Regions from separate parts of the Homo sapiens genome. Here regions 1 and 3 are each linked to region 2. The links are contacts of gene promoters, found by promoter capture Hi-C in blood cells and fetal thymus (Javierre and others, 2016). All regions are on one chromosome and are shown on one strand. The core of a region is centred on a gene start or on the middle of the fragment in contact, and the rest is flanking DNA. Distances in the headings are between cores, read along the strand shown.

Region 1 (4,261 bases), core at 751-3,250, 250 kb before region 2:
TGGTGGGAGGAGCCCAGCCTGGACGGCCGAGATATATATAGTGCTCTTGATTCATCTCTTGGAACTTTTCACCCATCAAGTTTAGGCTCCCAGTGGGGCACACATGGGAAAGACAATGCCCATGTCTTCAACTAGTTTCCCCATCAGAAGTGGTCATTGCACCAAGCACCCTCCTCCATTAAAACCGGACAGGCCAAGGGCCGCTTTCCTAATGGATGAGTCTTCTTGGTCTGTCTCATGTTCCCAACAGAGCTCCCTCCATGGGATGGGAAGGTGCCATCCCAGGGCCGCCGTTTTGACCCAGCCTCCAGCCAAAGCTGGTCCCCCTGCCAAGCAGGCCCTAGAGTTACACTGGAGAGTGACAAGCCTCATCTGAAGATTTCTTGCTGAAAATTGTCAGTTTCCTGCACAAGTACATCCTGGCAGTTTACACATTTATGCTTAGCGTTCCATTACTGGAACGCTAAGCTTGTGGAGTTATTTATATCCTACTGCTCAGTGTCATCGCCAAGGTCTGATTTTTCACAGAAAAACATTTGCAACCTCTGACATAATGAGTTAATTCAAATTAAACCCAGAAGGAGACTGCTGCTTCAGTCTCAACTGCTTGGAAATTGTGCTATGTAGAGCTTTCGTTTACTGAAAATTGTGCCTTCAGACTCTGTGCAGATTAACCTACTACATAGAGCAAGTACACACATAGGGCACCAACCAAGGACAAGTGTGTACCTGTGTGCACACACAAATAGAAAATCCAAAAATAAATATTTTAATTTCAGCTATCATGGAAGTTTTGTGTCATTTCTCCAAAAATGCCCATGTCAAATTTTATTTTATAATTTAGTCTTGTTTTTATTTAGAATTACTTAAGAAAAAGGGGAGCTGAGTGTGGTGGCTTATGCCTGTAATCCCAGCACTTTGGGAGGCTGAGGCAGAGGATTGCTTGAGCCCAAGAGTTTAAGATCATCCTGGGCAACTTGGTGAAACCCCATCTCTACAAAAAATACAAAAATTAGCCAGATGTGGTGGTATGTGCCTATGGTCCCAGCTGTGCAGGAGACTGAGGTGGGAGATTCATCTGAGTCTGGTAAGTTGACGCTGCAGTGAGCTGTGATCGCATCTTTGCACTCCAGCCTGATGACAGAGAGAAACTGTCTCAAAAAAAAAAAAAAAAAAAAAAAGGAAAAGGAAGAAAGAAAGGCAAAGAAAGAAAGAAAATGAAAGAAGAAAGAAAGAACGAATGAATGAAAGAAAGAAAGAAAGAAAAGAAAGAGAGGAGCTCTGCACAATAATTTTGCAGTGTCTTGGGTCTCTAAAGATCTTAATTAGGACCTAAACTCAGATTAGGCTGGGATCCTGGGCAGTGTGGCCCCAAATACAGTTATGGGAGGCCCTTCCAAGATAAGTCTAGACTGAGATAGAGTAGGTCTCAGGAGAGGGGCTGATATGCCCATGGTTCTCAACCTGGCTGCACCTGGAGAGCTTGGCATCACCTGGAGAGCTTGAAAACATTCTGATGCCCAAGCCCCACCCTAGAGATTCTGAGCTAATTGGTGGGGGATGGCCTGGGCACCAGGAATTTTCACAGCTCACCTGATGATGGCACTGTGCAGCCAGGGTAGAGAAATACTGACCTTTGCTTTCTCCACGTTGTGTCTGCCTTGGTTTTCCCATATTCCCCCAGGCTCCAGGATCTGAATGAACTACAGGAATTGAGAATTAGCCCTCCCACCCAGCCACTTTCTTCCCCTGCTGGGGAATCTTTGAGCCTTCATTTTGGCTATAGGCCTCGATATAACTCATCGGCCCAGGGATCGGGGCAGGAGTGGGGCTCCTGGCAGAGAGCAGAGTGTGGGCTTTGTAGTTACACAGACTTGCATTCAAGTCCCAGCTCTGTGATGTCAGAAGAAGATCTGATCCATAGTTGGTTACCCTGCGAAGTGGAGAAAGTGTCCGCCTAACCGGCAAGATCTCTTTGAGACTGAAATGAGAGAAAGCTGGGGCAACAAGTGAGTTCCTTCCGCGCCATTTCTGTGAGCTGGCCCTGTAGCTTCTCCTTGGTCCTTTGAGTTCTCAGCTTTAGCTCTCTTACTCCTGCTCCTTCTCCTCACTCTCTCTCTTTTCCACCCTGGATAAGTGCCCTGCTTCTCCCCACAGGTTAACCACCCTCCCCCGTACCCAGTGGGTGATGAAAGTCTTCCCTGGTTGTGCCAGCATCTCCCTGATACTTCCTTTCTCTCCTGCATTCAACCATGATGAAGCCCAGCACAGTCTCCCTCTCTTGTGCCCCATTTCCACCACAAGGTCACTGTCAGCTCTTACACAGACATCCCCAGTAGCTTCCACTTTGGCCTCTTCCAACCAGCCATTCTGGTATTGCAGCCATATTCATCTTTAAAAGCCCAATATTATTAAGTCACTCTCTTGCTAAATTCTGCAATGGCTTTGACTCACCCTTGGCCTGCAGGATCTGGCCCCTGCCTGCCTCTGCAGCCACCTTTTGCTTCATTCTTTCTCTCTTACTCCCTCTATCACCTCAGATCCCTGAGGGTTCCCTCCCTCCTACCTCAGGACCTTTGCACATGCTGTTCTCTCTGCCAGAAACACTTCTCTTTGACAGTGAATGCCTTCTCAAATATCCCTTATTTGGGGTGTTGACTACCCACCCCATCAGATTAGGTCCCTCACTATATGCTCTTATATCTCTTTATACTTTTTCAATTAAATAAATTTTGATCACGTGATTTATGGCCATCTCCCCTACTAGACTGTAAGCTCCATAACATCAAGGACCAGGCCAGTTTTTGTTCATCGTTGTAACCCAAATGCTTAGCACTGTGCCTGGCACAAACTAGGGGCCATTTGGACCAAGTGTCTAGGTTGTGTAGACTTGCAGCCCCTGTGGAAGTGTGTGGATAAACATGAGAAACAGGATGACTGCCTCCCCAGCATGGCTTGAGTGTTTCCTGGATGTGTCCAGGCGGGTATCACATGCTGGGTGGCATCAGAGGAGTGCCCTGTTTTCCTTTTATAAGAGAAGGAAAGGTTAGAGACTATGAACAGTCAGCTGTGGGATCATACAGTGTCTGCCCTGCTCCACTTGGCTCAAGGCCTCTGGGGAATGGGGATATGGGACAGGGACATGGCGCATGGTGCAAGTGGTTGTGGCAGCGAGCCTTATGGAGGAACAGCAGTGAGTCAGTCCCTTCTTGGCATGGGACGCTGCCTCTGCAGGCATAGGAGGCCATATTCCCCACTCTCACACCCAGTCAGTTGGGTGCTTCTAACTTGAGCTGTGGCATTTGGCATGTAAAAAATGCATTCCTGGTTTTCCAGCTTGGATCTCATGGTAAGCAGGGGTGTGAGGTCTGAGGAGGATGAGTGTTTCAGTGGAGATGTCTGGATAACTTTTAGGATAAGTATATCCCAAACATTGCATGGGATATACTCATACAAAAAAACTATTTGCTGTTTATCTGATATTGTAGGTTAACTGCATATCCTATAGTTTTCTTTGCTCAATCTGGTGCCCCTAAGCTTGGGGCTTCCTCACTTCACCGTGGTGCTGTTGTGCCCTTCCTTCATTATACCACACTAGGCTCTTGGGGTACACAGAGGAGTGAGACAGGACCCTTCCCTCAGGGAACTCACAGTCTAACATAAGAGATAAGAATTTGAACAGAGATCGCCAAAGCAATGCAAACTCTATTTCTGAGAATTTGGGGACCCTTGTTGGAATAGAACAGCTTTAGAATTCAGAAGAGATCAGAAATCATGGAACAGAATAGGAAGTCCAGAAACAAACCTGAAGGTTTTTCTTTTCTTTTTTTTGGAGATGGAGTCTCACTCTATTACTCAGGCTGGAGTGCAGTGGTGTGATCTTGGCTCACTGCAACCTCTGCTGCCTGGGTTCAAGCAATTCTCCTGTCTCAGCCTCCTGAGTAGCTGGGATTACAGGTGCCTGCCACTACGCCCAGCTAATTTTTATATTTTTAGTAGAGATGAGGTTTCACCATCTTGGCCAGGCTGGTCTTGAACTCCTGACCTCATGATCCACCCACCTCGGCCTCCCAAAGTGCTAGGATTACAGACATGAGCCAGCACGCCTGGCCACAAACCTGAATTTTTATAAGAATATATTGTTTTAGCGTGTGATAAAGGTGGCATTAAGACCTCTTGAGCAAAGAAGAATTATTCAATAAGTTTTGTTAGAGCAATTAATTAACTACCTGGAAAAAAATTAAGTTAGAATCATTACTAC
Region 2 (4,692 bases), core at 1,564-4,063:
AGCTCTAGGATTCCCCCACCCTCTCCTGTCAATAAGAATCACCTGGGGCAGTTAAAAAAAAAATCACAAGTCAACCCCCTGATATTAGATTTCAAGGTGTTTGAAAGGAGGCTCCAGAATCCGATTTTTTTTTCTAATCAGCTGAATTTATGACTCACAGAATCTGATTTTAAGCAAGTGTTCCCAAGTGAGTCTTATAAGCCAGTTAAGTTCAAGAATAATGCTCCAAGTGAAAGTGAGATCTGTGGCAGATCTTCACAGTTCCTCTAGCCTCATCAGCCTCAAGGGCTAATCCTCCTCCGGTGTTAGGCCTCAGGGTATTTGAAAACAAGAGAAGGCCCAGTTTGAAGAATGCAGAATGGCATCTCGTCCACACTTAAGTTTTCAATACCCTAAAAAATTTATCGAAGGGAGATTTTAGTTTGGGGAGGTGCTGTGAAGTAAGACATCACCAGGGGGCAGCATAGAGTTGACAAATTATACATGTTTTGGGATTTTTGACTTCACACTACAACATGAAATGGTTGCACCTACAATTTCCATTAACTCGGATTACTCAGAAAAGGACAAAACCCAGAACACTTAAGACACACGTAAACTTTATTAGCATGTAATTTTCAATACAATGGCTATTATATTATAAATACATAATATAAATATTTATAAATATAAATATTTTCTACAATGGCTATTATACTATAAATAGCCATTGTAGAAAAAAATGTTCCCTTGAAGTCGCATGAACCCGAATTCAAAAAAATTTTATTAGGATACAAAGATTCCTGGTAGAAATTTGAAGTGGTCTTCAAATTTCTCTCAGCAAGTTTCAAAATACTTGTCGTACTCTGAGAGTTAATTAGCGTTATAACTGGATGCTTCTCAATAGTTTCAATCAAATCTTAAGTAGAGTTCTACTAAGGTGGAAAATGGAGTGGATAACAATCTGGGCAAGCTATGCCAAAGCTTTTTCTAAAGAAAGTGTACCTAGTTAAAATGCTGTCACTGACTGTCAGAAAACTATAGCTCCCCTCCCGTGCATCCTCCATTAATTTTTCTTAACCCATCTCCACTTTCTCTATTCTAGTCCACATTTCTTCCGTCTAGAAATGTAGAAAAATCCTTTGGCAACCCAGGTAGCTTCCACAAGTATCATCTCCAAGTGTTTCTTCCTCTGAAATTCCACCATTAGAGATTAGAGATGAGTAGGAAATGCTGAAAGGCGAAGGAGGATCTGAAGAAATTTTACATTTTTTTCTCAGTTTGCCAAAAGTAGATACTCCCTGTATAGATATTCCCGTATAATCCAGGGAAGGTAGTCCAAGACCGTGGGGCAATTCCAAGAGGTGGTTTTGAAGTCCTTCAACTCTACCATTTTCATTTTATCCATACTAAAAAAGCTACGGCAGGAAGAAAAGACAAAGGACATTCCTGGGAGGCCAACTGGACCTAATCAAATAAAAACACTTTAGAAGAGGTACAAGAATCAGAAATCAAACCTATCTGCAGAGCCAAAAGCCATTCTGAAACTCCGTGTCCTAGAAACAAGGGTTTCCCATCTTTTCAAATATTTTAAGATAAAAATCGCAACACCCTATAGGAAAATGGCTATATTTTTAGCAAGAATTGGTGGAGAAGACAAACGATAATAAGCTACTATGAATCCAGAAGCTGCTTAAATGGCCGTATTCACAGCAGCCCTTGCAAACATTAATTAGAGTAGTACCCATTATGGGTGAGGACTTTTTTTTTAACCACAGAGAATATCTGTGGGTGCATCCAGATTGCTCAGTGGTTCCGTTTAACCCACCCGGTAACTGGCAATCATGGCCCTAGGACAGGCTTCTCCACCGGGGCGATGCTGCCTCCAAGGGGCGCAATGTTACTTTTTATGCATCAAGCACGGATAACACATACAGCACATAAGCAGGTCGACAGTGTATCTGCGGTACTGGGATTTCACGGGGAAAGGAGATGGGGACGTGTAAAAAGCCTTTTTAAGAGTCAGATAACGAAAAACGGAAAAAGAGGAGAAACACGGTCCTACAAGGGTCCTGAGCTGAGGCCATCAAATGAATGTACTGACAGGTATTTTTCTCCCAGGCAGCCAACTGAGAGTCAAGGCACTCTGACCGTGCTATGACTCCGGCCACACAGAAAGAGGTGTTTTCCCCTCGGTGGCCTCCAAGCGCAGCGGGCACTGCGTGCCATCCGCTCCCTCACCGGGCGCCCCGCGCGGATGAAACGGAGCAACTGGGAAAGAGCTCTGGAAACTGCAAAGCGCTGCGCCAAAGCGACGGGAGGTTCCCATTCTCAGCTGTACGAAATCCCGCGGGGGTCCTCCGCTTCCCCGAGCGACGCCCTCGGCCTCCGCACTTGTTGCTTCTGCGCCCCGCCTGCGTCCCCGTCAAACCCACCCTTCGCGGCCCCCTCGCCTCTCCACACGCTCGCACTCAGGCCCCGACCCTGCCCCGCGACCCCCTCACCCACGCCACGAAGCCCGCTCTGCGTGGCAGCCCCGGAGACAGCCGAGCCCCCGCCTCCGCCCCCTGCCCAGCTCAGGCCGCCAGCCCCTGCCAGCCGACGCCGCGGTTTCCTAGACAGCCGCGCCGCCGTTCCGCAGCCTCGGGGGCGCGCGCGCGCGGCCGGCGGGAGGCGAGGGCGCAGGCGCGGGCTCGGCCAAGCCGCCGGCGCGAGGCCTCGCGCGCGCCCCCGAGCGCGGTGGGCGGAGGGGCGGAGGGAGCGGCGGGGCCGCGAGGGGGCGGGGGGGCGGAGAGGGGAGCCCCGGGAGCGCGAGCCGCGGCCGGCGCCGCTGCAGAGCCGAGCGAATCCCGAGCCCGGGCAGCAGGTATGTGTCCTCGCAGCCGGCCGCGGCCAGAGCTTCCCCTGCCTCACTGCCCGAGTCTTGTGGTCGGGGCGGGGGGTGGGGGGACCGGTCAAGGTTTGCAGGATGCGTGCTCGGAAGGGCTGGGATCTTGCCGCTGACCTTCATCCCCCTGGCCGGGGGAGCCAGGCGAGGGTGCGTGGGGCAGCCCAGGGCTTCAGCTCCAGCCTGGAGACCTGCTTCTTGTCACATGCTTCTTATTTATTTTTGCAAACTGCCCTGGTTCGGGTCCAGCTGCAGATGCCTTACCTCCCATTCTTTGCCTCCGTGTGCCATCTTGCATTTATTAATAAAACATGCAAGCTGGAGGGGGGGGTTGCTGCTGGGGGGAATCCCATTGCAGTATGGCAAGCGGGCGCCTATTTTCGGTTTTCAGACGTGGTATAGAGGTGGAAATCCCACACCCTGAGGATTTGTGGCTTGGTTGGTCGTGACCACTTCCTAGTGGGCTTCCCCCGTTTGTCGGGAGGTGCCCCAGCGGCAGAATGGGCTGTCTGGAAGGGATGGTGGGTCTTCACCGTCAGGCCAGAATCCCCTTCAGGGGACAGGTGCAAGCTAGGGCAGGCAGTTCCCTGCTTGCTAACTTGCCAGGGAGGCTTAAACCTAGAAAATTGTCTCCCTTGATGGCCGAGAAAAGATGGCCTTCAACAGAATCCCTGGGACTTGCATACTCAAACTCATTACGGTTTTGCATCTGAACATGACTAAAGCTAGCCACCTGTTGGAAGTCAGACCCCATGAAACACCCCCGTAATCTAGCTCACCCATCCCTGTTTCACAGTCACCAATACTGAGCTAGCAATAGGCCCATATGGGTTCCCTCTATCCTCTTTAATGCTGCTTGGCTTTTCTTTTAAAATAAGACCTACCTATGATTTGATGCCCTATATGTGAGAGGTTGAAATTATATGATTTGTTTATATTCCATACACCTATCACATCATATCCTAAAGACTGAATTTCTCTTCAGTGCATGTGTTTATTTCCCTGGCTTTTCACCTTGCTTTGAACAACAGTGGGAAAATGGGATGTATATAACTGCTTACCTCCTCCCCCAAATACCTCCACCCTAAAATATTGTGATGAAAAGAATAGTAAGAGCTAGAAGCAAAAAATGAAAATGGTTATCACAAGATGTTGGGATATGATAGCTGAACCGTAATTGCTTCTAAAATGGTCAGAGTGTCACATCTAATCACGAGAAGGACATGTTTCTTAAATGTTCATATGTACCAGGTACTGAGCTAAAACTATTTGTGTATGAGCTCATTTAGTCCTCACAGCAAACCTGCTATGTCCATGTTGAAGATGAACAAGCCAGGACTTAGAAAGGTTAACTAACTTGCCCAAGGTCACACAGTCAGGGACAGGGTAAGGATGCAAACTCAAGCACATGGGGATACTGGAGGTGGGGAGCCCTGAGGGGGCTTTTCCTCCAGGTGCGGCTGCTCCGTGTACCTTTTCATTAAAATCAAGCTTATGCATGAGCATGTTGGCTTGGGTCTAATTTTCCATTTCATAGATTCTGCACCAACTTTGTGGCTTTCCAGTAAGAAAAGCAGTTGTTTCAGAATGGATCAGTATGGAATTTTTTGAGGTGGCACTAAACCTATAAAAAGTGGGGTCCAAGATGTGCTTCCATTTAATTCTCACACACAAGGAGTTGAGTTTAAAAAGTTGTTTCCCTCCAGATTTAAACCCATAAAACGTATATGCATTAAGTAGAATGAATCACTCCCATTTTCCATTATCGCATCCCACCCTACCCTCCTTGCTGCCCTTCACACTATCTTCTGGTCTCACTGCCAGTC
Region 3 (4,794 bases), core at 1,323-3,822, 130 kb before region 2:
GAAAGGTTGAGATTTAGAAGTCATGAGGTTTCTAAAAGCTAAAGCCCTGAGTGTCAGGAGATGTGGGTTTTAATGTAGAGTCTGTCATTATATTGTCCTGGGGTAGTAGTCACTTCTCTGGCATTGGCAGTCCTTGTTTGTAAAATAAAACTCTAGACTTGATCTCACAGGCCTCTCCCAACTCTGAAACTTTGTTCTAAAGAAGAAAATATATTCTCTTAAAATTTCGTGGGCTAGTCTATAAGGGAAAAAAGATGCTTTAGCAATGGTTTGGGGTATATGATGTCATGAAAGTAATATTCTTTTTACTGTCCAAGTCAGTAATTTACTGTGTAGAGAATTGGAAATGGACCAGAGGCAGTTTCCCAGAATAGGTCATTATTTGGTGTTAGTAATTGGTCATTCACGCATCTGCATACCCTTTGTTTCCTTAAGTAACTCTCCTTTCTGGTAACCACCTTAGGTTTGTCAAGGTGGAAGTCATGTGGTCAAATCAAATGGAAACACAAGTGTGTTAGGTATTAGATTCATTTTCCTGTCCCCAAAGCACCCGTTTGGTAATGCTGGCAGAAGACATACATGCGGCCAACAATCATAGGAAAAAAAGCTCCACATCACTGATCATTAGAGAAATGCAAATCAAAACCACAATGAGATCGTATCCCATACTAGGCAGAATGGCTATTAAAAAGTCAAAAAATAACAGATGCTGGCAAGTTTGTGGAGAAAAAGGAACACTTATACACTGTCGGTGGGAGTGTAAATTAGTTCAGCCATTGTGGAAGATAGTGTGGTGATTCCTCAAAGACCTAAAGACAGAAATACCATTTGACCCAGCAGTCCTATTACTGGGTATATATTCAAAGGAATATAAATTATTCTGTTATAAAGACACATGCACATGTATGTTCATTGCAGCACTATTCACAGTAGCAAAGACATGGAATCAACCTGAATGCCCATCAGTGATAAACTGGATAAAGAAAATGTAGTACATATGCAGCCATAAAAAAGAATGAGATCACGTCCTTTGCAGGGACATGGATGGAGCTGGAGGCCATTATCATTAGCAAACTAACACAGAAACAGAAAACCAAATACTGCATGTTCTCATTTATAAGTGGGAGCTAAATGATGAGAATACATCGACGCAAAGAGGGGCACAACAGACACTGGGGCCTACCAGAGGGTGGAGGGTGTGAGGAAGGAGAGGATCAGGAAAAATAACTAATGGAGAATGGGCTTATTACCTGGGTGATGAAATAATCTGCACAACAAACCCCCATGACACACGTTTGCCTGTGGAACAAACCTGAACATGTATCCCTGAACTTAAAAAAAAAATCAAATTGATAGTCTATAAACAAGCTGCCAGAGGCTCCAGTGAAACCTGGGAGCTGTGGGCAGAGCAAGTAGGCTGTCTCTGTTACACTCTGCCACCTCCTAGCGGTAGCAGCTTTTAGTTCCTGTGTCACAGAATTGAACATTTTCCTGCTTTGCAAGGAACTTTCAAAGGCTAATTCGCCTTTACTCTCACCTGCTTCCGTGGAGGAGGTGAATAAAGCCTGTATTTCAGTGATGTAGTAGTTTCTTAGGCTGCTGTAACAAAGTACCCCAAATTTGGTGACATAAAACGAGAAATTTATTCTGCACAGTTCAGGAGGCCAGAAGTCTGAAATTGAGATGGCAGTAGGGGTAGTGCTACCTTGGGAGGCTGTAGGGGAGAGTCTGTTCTTTTTCTCTTCCTACCGCTCCAGTTTCTGCTTCTGTGGTCACACTGCCTTTTCTTCTCTGTCTCTCCTTTGTACATCTTTCATTATGAGGACACTGTCATTGGATTTAGAGCCCACGTGGATAGACCAGATGATTTAATCTTAAGATCCTTACTAACATAGCGAGACCCCATCTCTACCAAAAAAAAAAAAATTTTTTTTAAAGATCCTTTTTCCAAATAAGCTTACATGCATAGGTTCCAGAGGTTTGATGTGGATATACCTTTGGCATGGGCAGGGGGCACTGTTCACCACACTATAAGTGGTTAGCGCCTTTTCTCTCCTTTAAAAAATAAAAAATCTGTAAATTCTCACTGCTGCTAGCACAGCTCTGTGTAAACCAGTGTTTTTTTTTTTTTGTTCCCTACTGAGAGCCAGCTTGCACCTTGGTCTACCAAGAGTTGCTGCTCAGTACATAGCTGCTTCATTATTTGTGTTGATTGCATTATTTATTAACACAAATAGCCATTTAGTTTTTTTAATAGAAAAAATAATTAAGATTTTGCATAATGTTTGTAAAAAATGGAAAACTTGATACAGAGATCGAAGAGGATATAAAATAAGATAAAAAATAAAAAATGGAAAATTTGATAGCTTAAGCCACTAAATTGCCCTTAAGGTGGAGTGCAAGTCAGTAACATTTCATTTTGCAGCATGTATAAAATAATTTCTGTTTTAAGGCTGTCTTTAACTGTTGCTCTTCATTTCTCTGCAGGTCTTTTAGATAACCCTGAACTTCGTGTGGTCCTTGTCTTTGGTTATAATTGCTGTAAGGTGGGAGCCAGTAATTATCTGCAGCAAGTAGTCAGCACTTTCAGTGATATGAATATCATCTTGGCTGGAGGCCAGGTGGACAACCTGTCATCACTGACTTCTGAAAAGTATGTCTTGTGTGCTTCTGATTTCGTCTGTGAATGAAGGGAAATGGTCTCAGGTTTTGTCACTTTGGGGTTAACAATTTAAAAAACGTGTTTAAAGAATTATTAAGATAATAGTTCATTCCATTTTGTAGTAGACATTGGCTAAGGGGCTTACTGAACATAATTCTGCTTACGGTTGAATAATTACATTTTTATATATATTGTCCTTCAAGAACTTCCTTGAGTCACATTCTCCTTAAAATTTGACATTGCCTGTTGATCTTTCCTTTGACAGATGTGGTACTCTGTGTGACCTCAATGTGTCACCTCCTTTCTAGTTTCCTCCTTTAAAGGAAACACATGGTTAGAGTGTATCTTTATGGCAAAACTTCTCAGAGCTTCTAATATGCCCAGTGCTGTGGAAATCTGGAAGGAGAATAGCATTACCTGTGACAGTTCCCAAATGTGTTTGGTCACAAAACTTTTTTCCACAGAATGTCTTGCAAGTCGTACTGGTTTTTGGAAATTCTGTATTAGATCTTTTGAAAGGCTTTTTCAAGCTTAAAAATTGTGGATCTTTTTTGTTACTAAGGCTTTTGCTTTCAAAGATAAAAATATTTGCTCTTCTGTCTTGGGAGCCATTACTTCCTTTCCATCTTGAATGAAAATACATATCATTTTGAGTTTGAAACAATTAGGTGGACATAAATATCATTTGTTTCCAGCAGGAAAATCAGACCCTACCCCACCCTCAATGCTTGTAAACACTACTATTTGTTTCCCACTCTGTTTAATATTTGCATCCTAGAGTGGTGACATGGGGACAGACTGTTGCAGATCAGTATCTATAAGAATAATGTAAGTCATCCTAGTTATAGTCTCTCTTCTGGTTATCTCTATGAGCTAGATCTGGGAAAATAGCTAAAGTTGAGGTCCCTGGACTGCCAGGGAGGAGGAAGAGAGGAAGGCCAAGTACGTTGAATCCCAGGCAGGATATCAAACACTGGATTTTGTGCATACATACACTGAATTCTTGGTGGCTATCTAAGTTATTTCCCCTCTTGCCTAATTTTTCCTGTGTCTTTGCTATTAACTTAAATTGTGTACGGATAGGGCAATGGTGATTCAACATACAGTTTACCTTTGAAATGCAGATACCTCACTCAGACTTATAACATCTGAGGTGCTAGCTTGTAAGTGTAGCTATTTGTATATCATCTACTTTTTATACCTAATAAGAGAAACACCCCCCACCCCAATCATTACTCTTCACATGACCCATTAATTTTAATGTGGTCTTCATACTCTGTCAGTGGTTAAGAGAAACCATTGAGTAAATGAGGGCTCCATTTTAATAAAGTCCAGATAACCCAACTGACCCAGTGCCCCAAAAGGAAGATGTATAATTCTTTGAGGCAAGATTGACAATGTATATTAACAATTCTGTACCAAAGAGGAAATGTGATAAAGTTTTAAGAGCAGCAGAGGACTTCAGAAGACGGATTTTGCCCCTCACAAACTTGTTTTACTACTAGCTAGCCTTATTACTTTAGTCACTTAACCTTTTTGCGTCTTAGTTTCTCACTAATCCAGTGACTCTTGCCCATTTTATAGATTCAGATGTTGGAAGCATGATACAATACTTGTTTATCCCCTAGTGGATGTTCACTATATTATGCTTTATTACTTTTATCAATGTTGTATTTTCTTTTGTAAGGATATTTCATTTTTTAAAAAAACCAGGCAAATATAAACAAAAACAAAGCATGAGTTTTTACCATCAAATTAAGCTGAACTCTAGACTCAAAGCAATAAACAAGACAAAAAAATAACATAATCATATTTTCTAGTGGACTAGACATAAAGCTAAAACTTCTAGAGTTAATAGGTTTTTAAAATTATCCTCTGAGTGCAGTGGCTCATGCCTGTAATCCCAGAACTTTGGGAGGCTGAGGCAGGAGGATTGCTTGAGCCCAGGAGTTTGAGACCAGTCTGAGCAACATAGTGAGACCCTATCTCTACAAAATGTTTACAGATTAGCCAGGTGTGGTGGCATGTATCTGTAGCCCCAGCTCCTTGAGAGACTCAGGCAGGAGGATTGCTTTATCCCACGAGTTTGAGGCTGCAGTGAGCTATGATTGTGCCACTGCACTTCAGCCTAG

Evidence for each region. Contacts are between HindIII fragments. The CHiCAGO score rates a contact against its expected background, and 5 or more counts as called.
Region 1: a fragment that was not itself captured here is called in contact with the fragment with the promoter of TMEM266 in region 2 in 1 of 17 cell types (endothelial precursors); the score reaches 6.1 in endothelial precursors.
Region 3: a contact is called between a fragment that was not itself captured here and the fragment with the promoter of TMEM266 in region 2, in 1 of 17 cell types (megakaryocytes). The highest score is 5.7, in megakaryocytes.

Annotation. Positions count from the first base shown.
Region 1 is chr15:75,808,561-75,812,821 of GRCh38, forward strand. No RefSeq gene overlaps it. Among named protein-coding and RNA genes, the nearest start is that of UBE2Q2, 33 kb to the right of the region's middle. The HindIII fragment of the contact is 3,069 bases long and covers 467-3,535 here.
Region 2 is chr15:76,057,172-76,061,863 of GRCh38, forward strand. TMEM266 (transmembrane protein 266) reads left to right here and starts at 2,814. Exons shown (of 11, transcript NM_152335.5): 1 at 2,814-2,845. It also overlaps a transcript of NRG4 not described here. RefSeq lists enhancers at 34-83, 274-323 and a silencer at 1,807-1,856. The HindIII fragment of the contact is 3,394 bases long and covers 962-4,355 here.
Region 3 is chr15:75,927,397-75,932,190 of GRCh38, forward strand. FBXO22 (F-box protein 22) reads left to right here. Exons shown (of 7, transcript NM_147188.3): 6 at 2,488-2,653. Among named protein-coding and RNA genes, the nearest start is that of FBXO22, 26 kb to the left of the region's middle. The HindIII fragment of the contact is 1,236 bases long and covers 1,955-3,190 here.